7 separate regions of the Homo sapiens genome follow, and all the other regions are linked to region 6. The links are contacts of gene promoters, found by promoter capture Hi-C in blood cells and fetal thymus (Javierre and others, 2016). All regions are on one chromosome and are shown on one strand. Each heading gives the region's core, a stretch centred on a gene start or on the middle of the fragment in contact. The rest is flanking DNA. Distances are from core to core; before and after follow the strand shown.

Region 1 (2,700 bases), core at 85-2,584, 930 kb before region 6:
TCCAGGGGATCCTGCCTTCATAGCTTTGTGGGGCAAAGCCCACACCAGAGCTCTCCAGGGTTGAAGTCTAGTGTCTGTCACTCTCCCAGGCTGGAGTTCCATTTTGGTGGTTGTACAGTTCTGAGGTCTTAGTGGTGAAGCTGTCCTCATGGCTTCACTAGGCATTGCCCTAGTGGGGACTCTGCACCAGCCATGTTCCTGTGGCAGTTCTGTGCCTGGGTCCCAAGACTCTCTGAGACATCATCTGAAATCTAAATGGAGGTAGTCGTGCCTCCACAGCTCTCGCACTCTGCTAATATGCAAGGTTATCACCACATGGACACTGCCAAGGTTTACTACTTGTACTGCCTTTGAGAAGGGCAGCCTAAGCCATGCCTGGGCTAACTTGAGCCACAGCTGGGGTGGCAAGTGCTGCAACACAATTTAGGGAACAGAGACTTGAGGTGGCCCTGAGAAATCAGCCCTGCAGTTCCAGGTGTGCCTTATTCCCCTTCCTTGAAACTGTTTTGCCCTCAAAGCCTTGGCATTCTGAGCCGATGGAAGTGGCAGCCTCAATGATTTAAAAAATGTCCTTGAGGTTATTCTTTCATTGTCTTGATGGATAGCATCTGGCTTCCTTCTGTCCATACTAATCTCCTTATTACACTTTATTTGTCCACACCTTTTGTATTCTCTTCCAAATATGACTTAATTCTTTACATGACTAAGCTGAGAATTTTCCAATTCTTTAAGTTGTGCTTCCTTTTTAGTTATATATTCCATCTTCATTTCATTTCTCTCTTTTTGCAGTTTACTCTAAAGCTTATTTGTAGGTTTAAACCATTTGTATTTTAGAAGTTTCTTTTAATGAAAATGGTGTTGCTTTCATAGAAAAAAAAGATAATTCCTCCATTTCATCATCTCATCCTGGGAAACAAAAATGGCAAGTGCCATTTTCATTCCAAAAATTATAAAATGTTTATACATAATATATTAAATTTAAGAGCATGAGCATCAATAAACTATAAAATAAATGAAGATAGAATTTATCTGAAAAAGGAAAGAAGATAAGTCAATGTGTGGTGTTATAGCATTAAACTAAAGTCAATTACTTGTCAATTTACCTAACACAAGGGATATAACAGATAAATAAAGGCAGGATTTATCAGAAAATTGCTGCAAACTTACAGGATGATCTTCAGAGGATTACTAAAATAGAATCATATCCTGTATTTATTGATGCCATGATTCTCTCCCCATCTTCATCCTGGGAATGAACATGAATAATTCACTAAGTATCACTGCTGTGTGTTTTAAAATATTTTGCTGGTTCAAAATGTTTTAACAACAGCTTCCATGTTCAGGATGCCAGACCTACTGCCATCAGCAAGAAGATAAAACCATTTTTTTAATGAAATCTAAACATTAATATGTATGTGGCTATGGCAGTTACCACCTAAAAATTAGCAAATTAATAGATAATTGTATGTTCTTTGCATTCTCTTAGTAAAAAATTACTAAGCATAAGAGTGCATGTAATTTGGGTAAAATTATTTTCTAGTTAAAGAAGAAAGTTGGATGAGAGTGCCTGATAGAGCTGTAGCAACAAGATTTAATCTTTTAAATGTTTAACAGAAACCTTTTTTATTGTTTAAATCTAGCAGCTTACTTAGACAGATGTGTTTCTTCAATTTTGAGGATAGCAGCTGCTCAAAATCAAAAATAATAGACATGGGTAGTTTTAAATAGCAAACATGAAAGTTGATTTCCCAACCTTACTTTCTGCCAAACAGCTGGGCAGCCATAAGGCATACCAGCCTAACTGGTGGCAATTAATAGCCATGTGTATTCAAGTTAGTACTGAACCCAGTACAGGTTCAGAAGCTTATACCATCCACTGACTGATCACATGCAACTTAAAGATTGCTACAAACATATTATCTTTCAAAATGTAGGTGATAATAGCTTCAATATCTCACTATAGAAAGGAAATATGTACTTTTCAAAAATGTATGCCATATGGGAATACCGATTCTGCCTATGATGATGTGAGCTTCTAAGATCCACCCCACTTACTGATTATAATTCTAAAATTTGGATAAATTACAAAGAAAACAAAAAAAAAAAACAAAAAACCACCTGAGAACCCTGAAAAGTAAACAAAGGCTCATGGGTCATGGAGATAGCCATCTTCACAACCTGGAGAAGCAATCCAGTCACAGGGGCATTTTCTGTTTTTATTTTTGTTTCTTCTTTTCTCTTAGCTTTGCCACATGGGAGGGGGCCAGGTAAGTGCTGGGTAGAGAAGAGTGGGTCCCTGGTTAGGGGTCCACCCCTTGGCCTGTGCCCTCGGACCTAGGTGAGGACGGGCATTTCTGTTCTCGTGCCCAAATCTTCCATTTTCCAAGACGACTCTGGCCCTCCACGCCCCCATCCTGTGCCTATAAATCCCCGGTGCCCTAGTGGGTAGAAACACGAGTGGGTGGACATTGAGTGAAACACACCAGAGGAACACACAAGCGGCTGGACGTCGAGAGGAACATACCGGTGGAAGGGCACACCGACCGGCACCGGCAGACGCCAGCAGGCCATCCACCAGCTGAATGATGCGGAGTTTAGCTGGGGCCGGTCGGACGGAGGAGAACCTAGCCGCGGGGCAGCCCACTCCAAGGGAAAACTACCTTCCCACTCCATCCCTCTTCTTGCCTCCCCGTCCACCTC
Region 2 (2,700 bases), core at 72-2,571, 730 kb before region 6:
AGGATTCAATATAATAGAATTAAGAAAGAAAAACATACTTTAATAAAAAGTAAACAGTAAATTAAAACATTATTAATATTTAAGTGTGAATGGGGGATGTTTATGTTTTTTATGTTTTTGGCAAAGTACAACAGGTGAGTGAAACTCAGGCAGCTTAATTTTCATAAATTTCCTCAAATATGATTCATTTATTCTTTTAAAATTATGAATTTCAATATACTCTAAAACTTACAGAAATCTGAAGGAGATGATAAAGGACAGGACTAATGTCCAGACCACCTATGATTCCTTTCCCTACCTTCAAGATTCCATCCTCATAGGATCCTTTGGGGGAATATTAGACAATGCTATTTAACCTAAACTTAATTTTGGTGTCTTAACCAACACTGTGTACCCTTTGCTCTGGCCATGGATCTTTTTTTTTATTATCAGATGTCCTTCAGGAAAAGTGACAGAATACCTAACGTAAGCCAGCATATCAATAAATGAAATATAGTATTTCACATGATTGAAAAGTCCCATTACAGAGCTAGCTTTACACAAAGCTTTATTAGCAGCTCAACAGTTGTCATCAGGGCATCCAATTTTTCTTGGATTCTTTTCCTAGTACCCCTATTTTTAGGTCTGCTCTCTGCAAATGGGTGAGAGATTGTTGCAGAGAATTCATATCATTTCAGCTTTATTTCTACAAGAAGTTATGTCTTTCCCAAGAAATAACCAGAGAAACATGGTAGGATTGCTTGTCAGTATGGAAGGTCCATTGGCATTCTGAAATTTACAGAGAAACTGTTAAGACCCATGTTATTATTATTCTCCACCTCATACAATCTTATCCCTACACACTTACCAATGCTGTAAGTAAGATATATAAGATGGCATGACTTTATGACCTGTGTTGTGGATGTAGTTTAGCTTCTTATTAGAATATCTTCATTTGATTCCTTTAGCATGGTATAGAGTAGAATAATTAATATCTTATTGTTATAGGTCTAGCATTGTGATATATGTGAGACATAGACAGAATTTAATCAAACTATTACTCAGATTAGCAAGGAAAATGTAGCAGCTATATTTTTCCATAACTGATCTGATCAGTTATAATCTGATCATCCTTTTTCTCATAATTATTTCCCTTTGGAAGAGAAGAAACTTAAACTTGCCAATTACTAGTATCTCAGCATCTGCACATTTAAAAATTCTATGTTCTAAGTCAGTCTACTCGAAGTTCATCGAATTCTCAGTGCTATTTTAAGTGGCTTGTTTTTTTAAAGTCTTCTTTTCATAAATAACTTTTTTTTCAACTTGCTTTCCTTCTCCCTCACCTTCTCAGACATGGCATCTGAATGTATGCCAGAAGGGTCACTTACATGACCTTGAGTAATGGGAAAAAGTGAGTCTTGAATTTTTGAATTATTGTGTGTCTTCTGGAATCCCAATGGCTGTTGTTAAATTGGTTGCCCTTGTCTAGTTCCAGAAATGGTGACAGTTAATGTACTGTGGTCACACAGTAGGTCATTCACTAGAATGAAGACCACTCTAGTCAAGCCCATAATGGCTGGCATTTGCCTTTAGTCACAAAGTCAAGCAAGGCAGCCTCTTCATACGGACTCCAGCACTGCAGTAGCTGGTCACTGGTGCATGGAGAAATTCTGCCCCTCCTGTCTGACATATGCAGGTCACAGGAAAACCATCTCAGTCTCATCAGTTTCATCTACCTAGACACCACTGCTATATTACCAAACTCAAGATGACAACGGGCATGTTTATGGACTTGTCCTAGTGTATTATATAGGGTACAGTCATCATCCTTTTCTTTCCAATTTTCCCTCAAGCTATGTAATATCTTCACCTTCCATCCCTCATCCAAAGAGGTTTGGCTTAAAGATATATCATGTGGGTCACTTTATCGGCTCCTGCTTCCCTTCAACATTGCTACATTACCCTTGCCTGAATCCACCTGGCTGGAACGAAAAAAGCTCTCAACATATTGTGTCTCTCTAGCAAGGATTTCCATCATATCATATCCACCTTTTTCTTAGGTCATGTTCAGACTTAAGGGTGGTAGGGTCAAACTTTCCATACTGAAAGAAAGCTTATGATCACTCCATCTAGCTCCCTTTAATCAAAAGAGGAAGAAATCCTTTCTTTTTTTCCCCCAAGAAATATATTTCATACACACACACACAAACACACACACACATATATATCTCGCATGCATATACATACATATTCTCATTTAATATTCCTTACTTCCTTTAGGATTACTATTCTAATTTTATACATATGAAGCAGAGTGTTTAATCTTTCCCAAGTTCCCTCACAGTTGACATAAAGCCGGAGTTCTGAAATTCAGCCCAAAGCTATTAATTTCAAAGTTGATACTCTGCTCACTTTAAATTGCAGACTCCTTCAAAGAAACTCCCCAATTTATCCAGTGACTGACTCTTTCTCCAACACCTTTTGGAAGAATAGTTTGAAGATGCCCTAACTAAGAATGAGATTTCGCTCAAGGCACAGAGACGTGGTCGTGTGTAACATCTGCCTTCTTGAGTAAATTTCAATGGGAGGATGCTCGCTTTGTCTTACTCAGAGAGACATGGGCACTTAATAATGACCTACCCTGCATCACCAGGTAATGTGCTCTTCCAATTGTGTGTAGAATTTTGCTCACACTACCTCATATTTAAACTTGTTTCCCTC
Region 3 (2,700 bases), core at 138-2,637, 900 kb before region 6:
TCAGCAATGGTAGTGCTGGGGACACCTCCTACATCCCCCCCAAAAAATATATATAGAGAGAGAGACAGAGATATAGATACAGAGATAGATAGATGGATGGATAGATAGAAAGATAGATAGATAGATAGATAGATAGATAGATAATTTCAATGTGTGCAGACACTAAAAATTGTCTATCACACTACAAAGTACATGACTTTTCCCATTGTTATTTGATTAGCAAAGAATCTTGACACTATTTTGAAAATGTCAACAGCCTTTTAATATTTCAACAGTAGATTTTTTTTAAAAAGCGAATTCTTTGACATCATCAATATACACCTAATTGTTAAAAACTAGAAGGTCACTGTTTCCACCCAGTTGGATTTTGAATGCAAACAACGTAATTGCTATGCGATTACCTCTGTTTTGTTTGATTTGTCCATTTTAGCATTTTATATTATTTTTGCAGTATGAGTTCATTAGTGTCTTTCTGTACAAGATTAATGGTGGCTTCTATGGTGAAAGTTAAATCAAATAATATAGACAATTTTTTGTTCTCTCCTTTCTTAGACATTTTATAAACTGGGATTGGTGCAATATAAAAAATTAAAAATTAGTCATATTTTAACTATCAATGCACATTTTCTAGAGGTATTATAATGATACTTATATAACCATTTAATATAGTATATTGTACCACCATGAAGAAATAATGACTTCATAACATATTTGCAAATATTTTTTAAAGATGGTTTCTAAGTAGCAGAAATAAATGTAATAATCTTTGTTTTTCTCAATTTGGTTTATAAACTCCCTGAAGCCAATTTATTAATTCCATTGGATTCCAAGAACCATGCGGTAATACTTCCAAGTCTCTATTGCTGTTTGATCATGTCAAAACTAAAGATTAAATATTGCTATAATTATAACAATCTGAATTATCTTTTCAAGGTTAAAATTTGTTTTAAGCAAGATCATTTGCATAAATATATAATAATAAAATACCCTATACTTATTGAATGTATTGTGCACCAGACAGCATTCTAAACTTTGCATTCATTAACTCGTTTAATGATGACAGAGATATAGCATCCTCGTTTTAGAGATGATGAAGCTAAGGTGCAGAAAAATTATATAATTTAGCTAAGCGATCACAACTTGTAAGTAATAGAGCTGGGATGTGAATGTGAAAAGCCTTGTCCCAGAATCCAGATTCTGAGGTACCATGTACATTTATCTCTAATTAAGAGTTTCCATAAGTAAATATAAAAGAGTCTTTATGTAAAAAACATACTTGCATTTTAAAAGCTTGTATTGCACTGCAAGGATCTAGATTTAGTAATATTAAGTACTGACATCTGCTACTGTGCAAAAAGTAAGACAAGTTTGTGTGGTCAGACTTGGTGGGAATGCAGGCAGATTTGCGTACTCGTGTGTGTGTGTCCACACACATCCATCCATGTGCCAGTGCACAATAATAGACTGAGTGGAATTAAGCTTGCCCCTGAAAATGAAAAGCAAAAGTCACCTCAGTCAGGTAAAAATGATGCAGAGAGTAGTCACAATCAAAAAGATCAATTCACAATAATAGGCTTGTTCAAACAGTCTGAACTAGGCAACTGAGAATCTGACAGCCAGAATTATGCAGTGATTCAAGGTGCTGGGCAAGAAACAGGACCCTTGAAATGGGATTCAGGACTCAGCACAAGATGGCTGTTGCTAAGGAACCAGGAAAGAAAACTGCAAAGACAAGAAAAAGACACAGGAATGTAGAGCAAGTAAACAGTACCAGAAATAGGGTACAAGGTGGGGACAATCTCTTTGAACTTGGCAGAGGTAAAAAGAAGGTGTGCGATTCAATGCTCAATTATCAATGATGAACTAGAGCATTTTCAATTGCATTTTCAACTTTTTCATAAGTCTGCTGGCTAGGTGAAATAAATTTAAATACACAGATAAATAGTCATCAAAATTATTAATATAAATGTTATGCATCATTTCCTGGGCAGAACAATGTGTGAATCACTTAATCTTCTGACTACCAAGCAACTTCTCAACTTCTCAAAACAACTTTTTCTGTAGGTTATTATTTACCAGAGATAACATAGGTAATAAGAAAATTGTGATTTGGGTCCAGAAATATAGTTTCTCTCATAATGAAAATGAAAGAGAAAGATTTCTGGATAAGGGCACTTTCTTACTAGAGAATAGACTTCCACTGAGGATACTCATTGTATGAGGCAGGAATAGTGTTAGATGTTTTCTGTATTGTATCTAATTTAATTCTAACAATAGCCCTATGGCATAAATATGGGTATACCTTTCCCTCGATTACTCAATGAAACTTGTTTTTCAGGGAATTAATATAATATTGACATACTGTCAACAACACACAAGTATCACCTATCAAGTAGTGTTATCAACACAAAGATGGAACCATAAGAAAGCTGTAGGTCTTCAGAGTTGATTTACCAGAATACTGAACATTTGAATTCAGTTCCCTTTGGCATCTGTTTTTTCTTTGAACAACCTGACTAGTGGTAACAAACAAACTTCAAATTTGAGCATTTTTTTTTACTGTCTCTTCTATAAGAGGTAACTGATAGCTACCTCTAAGTTCTCATATAATTACACTTTCTAAGCAATATTAACCTATAGTTATAACTAAAACAGTAATATCAAAACTAATTTTCTGAAACAATATACAAGATGGAAAAG
Region 4 (2,700 bases), core at 28-2,527, 980 kb before region 6:
AAAGCTATGGGATTAGCATATTAAACAAATTCTGTGTGTTTTTTGCTCTCCTGTAAATTTGAAGAGAATAATTTTGACTAGTGGTCCTAAAAATGCAGTCCTTAGGCCTAGCCAGAGGAATAAAGGAAGACAAATAAATAAAAGCTACCACATTATGAAAGAGAAAGTCAAATTATCTTTCTTCCCTGATGACATAATCTTATATCTAGAAAACCCCAAAGACTTCTCCAAAAGACTCTTAGACTTTATAAATGACTTCAGTAAAGTTTCAGGATACGAAAACAATGTACAAAAATCAGTAGCATTTCTATATACCAATAATGTTCAAGCTGAAAACTAAATCAATAACCCAATCACATTTACAATAGACACAACAAAATAACAGTAGCATTACTATATGCCAATAAAGTTCAGACTGAAAACTAAATCAATAATCACATTTACAATAGACACACACGAAAATAAAATACCCAGGAAAACAGTTAACCAAGGAGGCAAAAGATCCCTAGGACAAGAACTACAAATCACTACAATAAATCATAGATGACACAAACAAATGGAAAAATGCCAGGCATGAGGCTCACGCCTGCAATCCCAACACGTTGGAAGGTTGAGGCAGGAGGATCGCTTGATCCCAAGAGTCTGAGACAAGCCTGAGCAACGTACTGACATCCTCTACATAGTGAGATATCTCTATTAAAAATTTTAAAAATTATCCAGGTGTGGTGATACATACCTGTGATTCTAGCTACTCAGGATGCTGAGGTGATTGGAGCATTTGAGCCTGAGAGGTTGAGGCTGCAGTGAGACATGATCATGCCACTGCACTCCAGCCTGGGCAACAGTGTATGACCTTGTTAAAAAAAAAAAAAAAAGAAAGAAAGAAAAGAAAAGGAAAGGAAAGAAAACAGAAAAACATCCCATGTTAATGGATTGGAAGTATAAACATCATTAAAGTGACCACACTGCCAAAAGCAATATGCAGAGATCCAATGCAACTCCTATCAAATTACCAATGTCGTTTTCCACAGAATTAGAAAAATAATTCTAAAATTAATATGGAACCAAAAATGAGCCGGAATAGACAAAGCAAACCTAAGCAAAGAGAGAGCAAAGCTAGAGGTCTCATATTACCTAACTTCAAATTATACCACAAGGCTATGGTAATCAAAATAACATGGGACTTGTACAAAAATAGATGCACTGATCAGAAATGAAGCCACATGCCTACAACCAACAGATCTTTGATAAAGTTGACAAAAATGCACAATGGGAAAAGGACTCCCCCTTCAATAAATGGTGCTGGACAAACTGGCTAATGATATGTCGAAGAAAGAAACTGGATCCCTATAAATCAGCATATACAAAAATTAACTCAAAATTGATTAAAGACTTAAATGTAAGCCCCAAAACTATAAACATTCTAGAAGAGAACCTAGTACAAACTCTTCCGGACATTGGCCTAGGCAAGTAACTTGTGACTAAGGCTTCAAAAGCAAATGCAACTGAAACAAAAAAAATAAACAAATGAGACTTACTTTAACTAAAAACTTCTGCACAGCAAAAGAAATAACCAACAGAGTAAACGACAACCTACAGAATGGGAGAAGATATTTGCAAACTATGCATATGACAAAGGACCAATATCAGAATCTACAGGAACTTAACAACAACAACACACACACAAGAAAATTACTACATTCAAAACTGGGCAAAGAACATGAACAGACAGTTCTCTAAAAAAGACATGCAAGTGGCCCACGAACATATGAAAAAAATCAACACTACTAATTACCAGAGAAATGCAATGCAAATTAAAAACACAGTGAGATACAATCTCACTCTAGTCAGAATGGCTATTATTAAAAAGTCAAAAACAACAGATGTGAAGAAAAGGTAATGTTCATATACTCTTTTTGAGATCATAAATTAGTACAACATCTATGGAAAACAGTATGGAGATTTCACAAAGAACTAGAAATAGAACTATTATTTGACCCAGGAATCCCACTTCTGGGCGTCTACTCAAAGGAAAAGAAATTGTTATACCAAAAAGACATCTGCACTTGCATATTTGTTGCAGCACGATTCACAGCAGTAAAGTCAACCTATGTGTCTAGAAGTGAATGATTAGATTAAAAATGTGGTATATATACACCCTGGAATACTACACAGTTATATAAAAATAATGTCTTTTGCAGCAAAATTGGTGGAGTTGCAGGTTATTATCCTAAGTGAAATAACTCAGAAACAGAAAATAAAAAACTTAATGTTCTCACTTATAAGTGAAAGCTAAACAATGAGTATATATGGACATACAGAAGGAAATAATAGACACTGGGGCTGCCAAAAGGGGGGAAGGTGGTAGGAGGGTCAGGGTTAAAAAAATTACCTATTGGGTAGAATATTTTCTATTTGAGTGATAGATACACTAGAAACCCAAACCCCGCCACTAGGCAATATATCCGTATAACAAACCTGCACATGTATCTCCTGTATCTATAAAAATAAAAAATAAGAAAAAAATGAAAAAATAAAAGTGCTGTCCTCTGGCCAGCAGTATTACTATCACCAGGAAAACACTTAATACCGCCAGATTCTCGGGTGATGTCCTGAATCTACTCCATCAGACACTTTGGGGTAGGGTCCAGTGTTAATTAGCCCTCCAAGTGATTCTGATGGACACCTACATTTGAAAAC
Region 5 (2,700 bases), core at 82-2,581, 960 kb before region 6:
AATCAAGTGGTTTTATAATGTAATAATATTTCACTCTAGACTTTCTTTTTTTAAAAAGGGTGGTTACTGAAAGAATGAATTATGTCCTACATCAGCAGTAACAGTGGATATGATAACAGTTAGGTCCCCATTGCAAACACAGTGTGGCAATATTTAAGCATCTAATTGCATTTAAGGATCTCATTCATGAAACACAGGCTCTTCAGGCAGGAATGTTCAGACCATTTTTTATTAAGTATTTGCTGTATGTTGGGAATGTGTCAGGCACTTTTTCTAAGCATTTGGAGTAAACAATACAAGATTTCTATCCTGTTGGAACTTACAGGACAGGGTGGGAGGCAAAAATAAATACTAGAAAAAAATATGTATCTAATATCATATGGCAGTAAATGCTATGGAAGAAAATACCAAGAACAAATACAAACAAACAGGAAATTCTGTTTTCAGCACATACTTCACATTACTGATTTTTCTTAAAGAAGATGATGATTAGAAGTAATGTGAACTAAGAGGAATGTACTGTATGTTAAAATGCTTTCATATCCAATCTTAGTATTATGATTATCATTATTGAAAAGTAAGTGTTCAGTGACAGTTGGAAAAGTATGTGAGATTTTATTTGAAAGATAAATAGAAATTTTTAGGCAGAATGAGAAGAAAGGAGGACATTTTTGTTGAGCTAAAGCAAAAACTAACAGTGTAAAGTATATTCAAGGAATTATGAGTAGACATTCTATATATATACAAAATGGGAGCTAAGACTGGAATGGTATGATAGATTAATAGATTACTTAAGTGAATTTGGGAACAAAAGGACAAATACGTAGAACAACTAAAATTCATAGGTATAAATATAAAATTATTTACTGAAAACTTACAAATATAACCCATTTATTTTTCACTGAACAAATATTCATTGAATGCCTAACATATGTCAGAATCTGGGTATATAATATGGGCTAGGTATATATCCTCTCAGATTCATGGTACACACATAACTTAGACATATGTGACCCTATTTTACAAAGAAAAAGTGTCTTATATATACACTGGACTTACTAGAAAAAAATCTCAGGACTGTAAGTGGATAAGCATGGATTTGGATGTTGGCAGGTGAATGCCAGTCTCCACCTGCAACCAAAATTGTTACATATTGTCTCCAAGTGTGGCCTCTTTATCAAAAATTGATAACGTCCCTGTGTAAAAATGAATATTTCCTCATCTTTATTTTTCTCCCCTGAGATATGTTTTGTCATTTAGTGAACCCATCTAACTTGCATGCATCATTTTCATATTTTTCTAATTGTGGAAGCCTTTTGCTGGCTGCAGTGGATCACAGATTGTTTTCTCTGCTTTGCTTAGTGATAATTTATTTTGATAAAAAACAAATTTATCTTACCTCAATAATAAGGAGGAGGTCCTCCTTGCTGATGCCTCTCACTCTTGAATTCTTTAATATCCAACTATTTTCATTACACATTTCAGTCTGGACTGCATATTAAGTATTTTGTTGTTTATGTTCTGTTGGAAATGTATCATTCCACTTTAAACATTCCTTCCTCAGTGGTATCTTCTGGTCTAACACTTTCAGGTGCCCCTCTGTTTGCTGAAGTCAGAATTAAAAATATTTTTCTTGTGGGTTCCTGCAGCTGATATCTTTATTTATGTGTTGGTCACATACGTCTAAATATGGTAAGCAGAATGATACTTTCATTCTGATCAATTTTCTTGAATGATGTTTCCATATATTTACTCATGATTTGTAGCTAACTCAGACAAAACTAATATAAAACATCGGCACTGATTTTGGCATAATAAGTAATTATTTGCCATTGAGTAATAAAAACAAATGGTTTATAAACAGCAGAAGGACTTTATACATAACCTTTCTTTAAATGGTAAAATAGCATCAGCTGTCAAATTCAAGCAATGCATACTGAAAATAGAAGTAACCAAAGGAATCATAATTGTGTTTCAAGCCTGTTATAATTTACTGGTTTAAATTGAATAGCAGATATTTAAAATTTAAGAAAATGTATTTTATTTATTTCCCCCAAAGTTAAACTTATTTCATAGGCCTGGAACAAAATATCTTACCATTCAATAAGTTAGAATAGTATTTGATAATTTCAAAGTGTTGTTAAATTGAGGAGGTAGTATTATTCATTTTGAACATGAAGACTCTCTTCATTTAATATTAGCTTTACTTTAACTCCATTCTGGTACATGATAAGATAAAAATACATTTATAACTTGAAATCTCACATAATGAAAATATTACTTTCAGAAACAAGCGCTGTTTGGATGTAAAACATGTTTAGTAGGGAGGAAAGGCCTCTTTGAAAGCTACTCTTAGTTTATGTTATTGAACTGAAGAATTTCCAGATGAAGGGCAAGAGCACAGCCTTAAAACTCCAGAAATGTCAATTTCCATAACAGCAAATAATTTGCCTTTTCAAGTCACAAGACTGCAATTAATCATGTGAGACATCAAAAAAGAAAATTGAGGCTGTTTTTAATGATGCATCCTTGTGTGAAAAAAAGGTAATAGTTCTGCATTACCCCAGTGATTAATTGAGGTACTAATTTAGATTGCATGTCATATGAGTATACAGTTTCTTTGGGGGATGGTGGCATTCAAATAGGGGCACTTATTTATAAGAATGCTGTAATTGTTCAAAAATCAGTGTTAGGACTGAC
Region 6 (2,700 bases), core at 28-2,527:
GAAAAGTCAAAGCTCAGTCTAGGCTTTAGGTTTCCTATTTATAAAATTCTTTTTTTTCTTTAACGATCCTTCTAACATTTCTAATACAGTGGGGTTCTTAAAACTACAAAGCACATTTCATCAGCAAAGCTCAAAAATATGTGGACAAAATTTTTTTTAATATCAGAGAAAACAAATTCATATTCATTTGAAATAGCATATATTAATGGTGGAGGCAGTGAGATGAAGAATATGTATATAACTGTTAACCTTTAGCTTAAGCTCCAAAACTATAACTTTCTAGGACTGAATTACTGTCCCTAGAGTCACAGAGGAAAAACTGATAATAAAGGCTTTTTACTACAACAAAAAATTTAAAAAAACCTTCCCTACTGCTCTGCAGTAAGAAAAGAAGGTGCCAGCCCCAGAAACTAACCATATTAGAAAAATCTCAGTGAGTGTGTAGTGTTAATAAAATCTGCCTCATGGCAAGTTATTAAATCTTTCTGAAACATTAGAATAAGTAAACATAATTAGTAAAATCTCATTACCCCCAGATCCTGTACAAGTGTGCTATATCTATTACATCATTTTACTGAATTCTACGATACATGTAATTTTAAAGGGAAGGAAAAATAAATAAAAAATAAATGACAACATTAAAAAGTGATTTAAAATAAAGTTTTCTGCCATCAAGAACACCAAAAACCACATAAGAGCAAAAAAGAAGTGGGCTGTATCACATCATGCATTAGTAAAGTAATCCAAGACAGCTTATTTATACAAACCCCAGAAAACGGGGGGGGGGATCTAAATTACAAAGATACATGGTTTCAATAGAAACCATAGGTCTTAACTACATATTAGTAAAAAATCAAGAGCAATTTGAAAGCAGAGAAAAAAAACTTCAAGAAGAGAATGCACTGAAGGGGTTAAATTACACCAACTTACACACAAAAGCTTATACTGCTTACACCCTACAAAAGCATGTAAGAAACATGAAAACCAACATCTAACACAGAAAACACTTAGAAAGCCTGTACTTAAGAATAAAGTTAAAAAAGGAAGTAAGCTGGAAAAAATAAAATCATAACCATTTCATAATCATCACATTTTCAAATTATTCACTCATCACTACACTTGCATTCAACATATATAATTTATCACATAAAAGCAAAATCTCTAAGCTTCTCCCTACCTTAGGTTTTTAGTCAAAATGAATGCAAACAATCACGTGGGATTCAGCCAAGCAGTGACGTTAAATTCTGCTCTGTCAGAGAGAGCATCTGTCAAGCCCACATTTAAACTGCTGCCTGCCTGTGCAGCAGCTGAGGAACCGTGGATTTCATATTATAGACTAAAACCCCATTAAAACTGCTCAAAATCCTTCCTGCAGCTGCCAGGCAACAACGAAAGAAGAGAGGTAAATCCTATTCTTTTCCAATACAACTGAAGCACTACATTTTAGCTCTGGCTGCTTTACATTGCAGCTCAGTGTTATTAGTAGAAATATGGATACTGAGACGAGAACACAGCACTGCATTGTCCAGCCAGGAAAATAGCAGATGTAAAAAGCTTCAATGCATCAACTGTCGGGAAGAGTCAACAGTGCTACAAGCAGAACGGGCAACTACAGCTCTTTTGTTTAACGAAAGAGAGAAAATGAAAGAAAGGGAAAATTTCAGAAGACTAGGACCCATATGAACAAGGAGGGTAACTCGAAGACAAGCAGACAGATGGACACTTTGGATACTGTGAAAAGCAATCGCAGGAGGCAGACTGTTGGGGGATGTGCGCATGTTCGATAGCATCTTTTTTGCTGAAGTGATGGCGTGCCAAAAGTATTTTCAGTGGGCATAATCCTCTTCACATAAATGGCCTGACCAAGGAAGGTATGTCAATATCTTGTGTATGATAGTCATTTAAATGTGTTACCTTTTTATAGCCCTGGAGGCACTAATACCTGATAAGCAAGTTCATACAGCTCACTGCCCTTGAAACTATGAAAAGGTTTCTTAATATCTGATTTTAAAATTTGTCATTGTTTAGAAGACAAGCTGTCACTGCTTTATGCAGCTAAATATGTAGCTTGGAGTAATTCTGGGTAATAGACATCAGAGGGAAAAGGCAAATAAGAAGAAGATGTGTTTAAAGGATTCCTTAAGAAATTAAACTTAAAAAAAAATCTGTAGCCCTTTACAAAAAACACAGCAATATTCTATCAAATTAGGTCAAACTGAATCCTTATCTAGTAAATTAAATGCTCTCTTAAAAATGGCTATCAAAAGACACAATGCAGTGAAATTTCATTAAATAGTAGCAAGGAAAACCTTAAGAGTTTTTTTTTCAAAGTCCTTTTAAAACAAAACCTTAATATGTAACAGCTTTTAGTAACAAAATCTTCCCCAACATCTCCCTAAATGAAGATAATGAACACAACCAAAGAGAGTATCAACAAATTTTAAATATTACCAAGCTACAAGAAGATACTAAAAGGAAAGCATTAACATAAGATCACATAAGGTAGTGTGAGTTTATGCATAACCCCACAATAGAGCCTCGTGTTATTATAGTGACCATGAATAGAACTTTAAACAAAGGGACATCAATAGTGGCTTTAAAAATTAACTATTTTAAATAGCTTACATTTTATGTAAAAGACTGATTCCAAATGATCAAATTTAACGTTGTCTCTGATTATCATTTCAGAAGTGAAATTCA
Region 7 (2,700 bases), core at 43-2,542, 860 kb before region 6:
CTTTTATATTCCATCGCTGACTGTTCTACAACCCACATATAATCTCCTAAAGCACATTCCTCTACTTACTCTCTCACCTCCTCCTCCTCTACCTCCTACCTCTTATTGTGGTTCTCCCCCACTCTCCTAGGCTGCCTTCTCCTCTTGTCTCCTAGTATCTCTCTTCCTTCTTCTGTTTTTAACTGTTGATTTTCTCTATCACTATTTTATTTCTTTTTCTGCTCTTGTCATCATTATTTCTTACTTCATTAGCCATAACACTCACATACATATTTCACGCACTTACTTTACCTATAAGAAAATTCAGGGCCGGGAGCGGTGGCTCACGCCTGTAATCCCAGCAATTTGGGAAGCCGAGGCAGGCAGATCATTTGAGATCAGGAGTTCAAGACCAGCCTGGCCAACATGGTGAGACCCTGTCTCTACTAAAAATACAAAAATTAGCCAGGCATGGTGGTGCATGCCTGTAATCCCAGCTACTTGGGAGGCTGAGGCAGGAGAATTGCTTGAACCCGGGAGACAGAGGCTGCAGTGAGTCAAAATCATGCCATTGCACTCCAGCCTGGGTGACAAAGTGAGACTCTGTCTAAAAAAACAAACAAACAAAAAATGCAGAATGCTTGATATTGCAATTTCTATGTGTTTATTTTTACTTTTACTCAAAAGTTGGAATTGGTGTTTGTGAAACTGAAATCGATCCAATAGTCCCACACACAGTTTTTGTTTTGTTTTTATTTTTTATTTTTGTAAACATAGAAGTTGACCTTTCTGGTCATAAAGCTTGACGTTTATATTTGTTTCACCTGAGTTATTTCCTCAAGAAAGGACTCCCACGCCTCTCAAAAAGAGTATCAAGTATCAAAGAACTAAAACTCACTAGATCATTACATCCTGGCAATATGTGGCCAGGCCACTCATTTATCATGGTTGCTTCCTTACCCCTCCTGTTTCTGTTTTCCCACACACAGTTAATTTCTTCCATGCTATATAAACCCTTCATCTTTGTTGGTCAGGGAGATGGATTTGAGACTGATCTTCCATCTCCTCATCTGCAGTACCTGATTAAAGCCTTATTCCTTGGCAATACTCATCTCAGTCATTGGCTTTCTGTGCGGTGAGCAGCAGGACCCAGACTGAACCTTTGGTGTTTGGGTAACATAACATCATCTACTCTCTGCTATGTCTGAATATTTGTGTCATCTTATACTATGTTGAAATTTTAACCTCCAAGGTGATGGTATTAGGAGATACAGCCTTTGGGAAATCATTAGGTCATGAAGGCTCACTAATGGGATTAATTTCCTTATAAAAGGTATGACAGAAAAACTCTTGACCCTTCTTCTATGTAAGGGCACAGGGAGAAATTATCAGTCTGCAACCCAGAACAGAGCCCTCACAACACCCAGTCGTATTTGCACCCTGATCTCAGACTTCCAGCCTCCAGAACTGTGAGAAATAAATTTTTATTGTTTATAAGTCACCCAGCCTATGGCAATTTGTTATAACAGCCCTAAAGAACTAAGACACTCAAGTTGAGTATTTAATAGGTCATAGTGTTTATCCATAAGCCGCAAAAGAATAAAATGGATAAATTATTTTAAGAAATATTATAAGAAATTTATGACTTCTTGTTTTGAATAATACTTGATTTCTTAAACAATTTTTTTTTAAAAAGAGGGAGAAACTGTAACCAATTCATGTCGAAAACTTTTCTAAGTAAAAAGATTTTACAGTTGGACTTTCTTATTGTAAATGTATGCTCAGGTATTTTGAGCCCTCTACTAAATCTGTTTAGTAAGCTTAGGTTACAGTACATTCTCTCAGAACATTCAAATATGCACAGACTGTATGTTATGGTTGTTGTTCAACACTCTTCCATATACAGAATTAGCCTCTCTCATCTTCAGTTTCAACAATACCTTTCTACATTAGTTTAAAAAATGACACCTTATTTTTTGAGCTGAAAGACCTTAGACATAATGGAGTTTTATCTTCTTTCATTCTTTATAAATCTTTTTCAAAAATAAACCTTGGAGAACTCCATAGCATACTATTTTGAGAGTAATAAGGCTATTTTTGTTTGATCAAAAGATAGGAAGTATTCTTCCAACACAATTGCTCATATTGCTTAAATGGATTTCAACCAATTTTTGTCTATTTTGTCTTCTTCAAGTAACCTGACAATCCAGCTTTAGAATTTATACCTCAACTTCAAAACACAGACAATCCATGTCAAGAATTTTAAAATGGGATTTTCTTTCATTTACTGCTTAAGTCTTTTCTCTTCGGAAAGCTAGTGTTGTGCCTTTTACATATTAGAGCATCATAAAATGTTTTGTTCTTGTGTTTTTTATTTAACTCTCTGCTCATAGCCATTCATACCTGACTATAGTCTATTTACTTGGATCTCTTTTCTATGTGCCTGTATTATCTATTTGTTTGCTTTCTTGCTTTTGAGTTGACTTATTGTACTTTAGGATTCAGGAAAGAGAAATGAGAAATGCTGAGAGAATTGGAGTTTTATTATCAGTGGTTCTAGGAAGAAGCCTTTTTCCAACTCATCTTCCACCACGGATTAACTGGAATGCTATGACACTGCTATTTGTTATTTATGCCATTGTTTAATAATTGGTATGCTGAAAGTAGTATCTACTATGAGTCATACACTTTAGATATTTTCCTAGAAGCTACTTTTTGGTG

Evidence for each region. Contacts are between HindIII fragments. The CHiCAGO score rates a contact against its expected background, and 5 or more counts as called.
Region 1: a contact is called between a fragment that was not itself captured here and the fragment with the promoter of B3GALT2 in region 6, in 2 of 17 cell types (non-activated CD4 T cells and total CD4 T cells). The highest score is 5.8, in non-activated CD4 T cells.
Region 2: a fragment that was not itself captured here is called in contact with the fragment with the promoter of B3GALT2 in region 6 in 1 of 17 cell types (naive CD4 T cells); the score reaches 5.2 in naive CD4 T cells.
Region 3: a contact is called between a fragment that was not itself captured here and the fragment with the promoter of B3GALT2 in region 6, in 1 of 17 cell types (non-activated CD4 T cells). The highest score is 5.3, in non-activated CD4 T cells.
Region 4: a fragment that was not itself captured here is called in contact with the fragment with the promoter of B3GALT2 in region 6 in 2 of 17 cell types (non-activated CD4 T cells and total CD4 T cells); the score reaches 7.3 in non-activated CD4 T cells.
Region 5: a contact is called between a fragment that was not itself captured here and the fragment with the promoter of B3GALT2 in region 6, in 1 of 17 cell types (naive CD4 T cells). The highest score is 5.9, in naive CD4 T cells.
Region 7: a fragment that was not itself captured here is called in contact with the fragment with the promoter of B3GALT2 in region 6 in 3 of 17 cell types (naive CD8 T cells, non-activated CD4 T cells and naive CD4 T cells); the score reaches 6.9 in naive CD8 T cells.

The regions. Positions count from the first base shown.
Region 1 is chr1:194,118,090-194,120,789 of GRCh38, reverse strand. The region is part of intron 5 of LOC124904475 (a long non-coding RNA gene); the gene reads right to left. Among named protein-coding and RNA genes, the nearest start is that of LINC01031, 810 kb to the right of the region's middle. The HindIII fragment of the contact is 1,062 bases long and covers 804-1,865 here.
Region 2 is chr1:193,911,579-193,914,278 of GRCh38, reverse strand. The region is part of intron 5 of LOC124904475 (a long non-coding RNA gene); the gene reads right to left. Among named protein-coding and RNA genes, the nearest start is that of LINC01031, 610 kb to the right of the region's middle. The HindIII fragment of the contact is 1,547 bases long and covers 548-2,094 here.
Region 3 is chr1:194,086,325-194,089,024 of GRCh38, reverse strand. All of the region lies in intron 5 of LOC124904475 (a long non-coding RNA gene), which reads right to left. Among named protein-coding and RNA genes, the nearest start is that of LINC01031, 780 kb to the right of the region's middle. The HindIII fragment of the contact is 189 bases long and covers 1,293-1,481 here.
Region 4 is chr1:194,169,750-194,172,449 of GRCh38, reverse strand. All of the region lies in intron 7 of LOC124904475 (a long non-coding RNA gene), which reads right to left. All of the region lies in intron 2 of LOC107985242 (a long non-coding RNA gene), which reads left to right. Among named protein-coding and RNA genes, the nearest start is that of LINC01031, 870 kb to the right of the region's middle. The HindIII fragment of the contact is 4,453 bases long and covers 1-2,700 here.
Region 5 is chr1:194,145,423-194,148,122 of GRCh38, reverse strand. All of the region lies in intron 6 of LOC124904475 (a long non-coding RNA gene), which reads right to left. Among named protein-coding and RNA genes, the nearest start is that of LINC01031, 840 kb to the right of the region's middle. The HindIII fragment of the contact is 7,383 bases long and covers 1-2,700 here.
Region 6 is chr1:193,185,190-193,187,889 of GRCh38, reverse strand. B3GALT2 (beta-1,3-galactosyltransferase 2) reads left to right here and starts at 1,277. Exons shown (of 2, transcript NM_003783.3): 1 at 1,277-1,871. The region is part of intron 10 of CDC73 (cell division cycle 73); the gene reads right to left. The HindIII fragment of the contact is 388 bases long and covers 1,169-1,556 here.
Region 7 is chr1:194,045,534-194,048,233 of GRCh38, reverse strand. The region is part of intron 5 of LOC124904475 (a long non-coding RNA gene); the gene reads right to left. Among named protein-coding and RNA genes, the nearest start is that of LINC01031, 740 kb to the right of the region's middle. The HindIII fragment of the contact is 1,019 bases long and covers 783-1,801 here.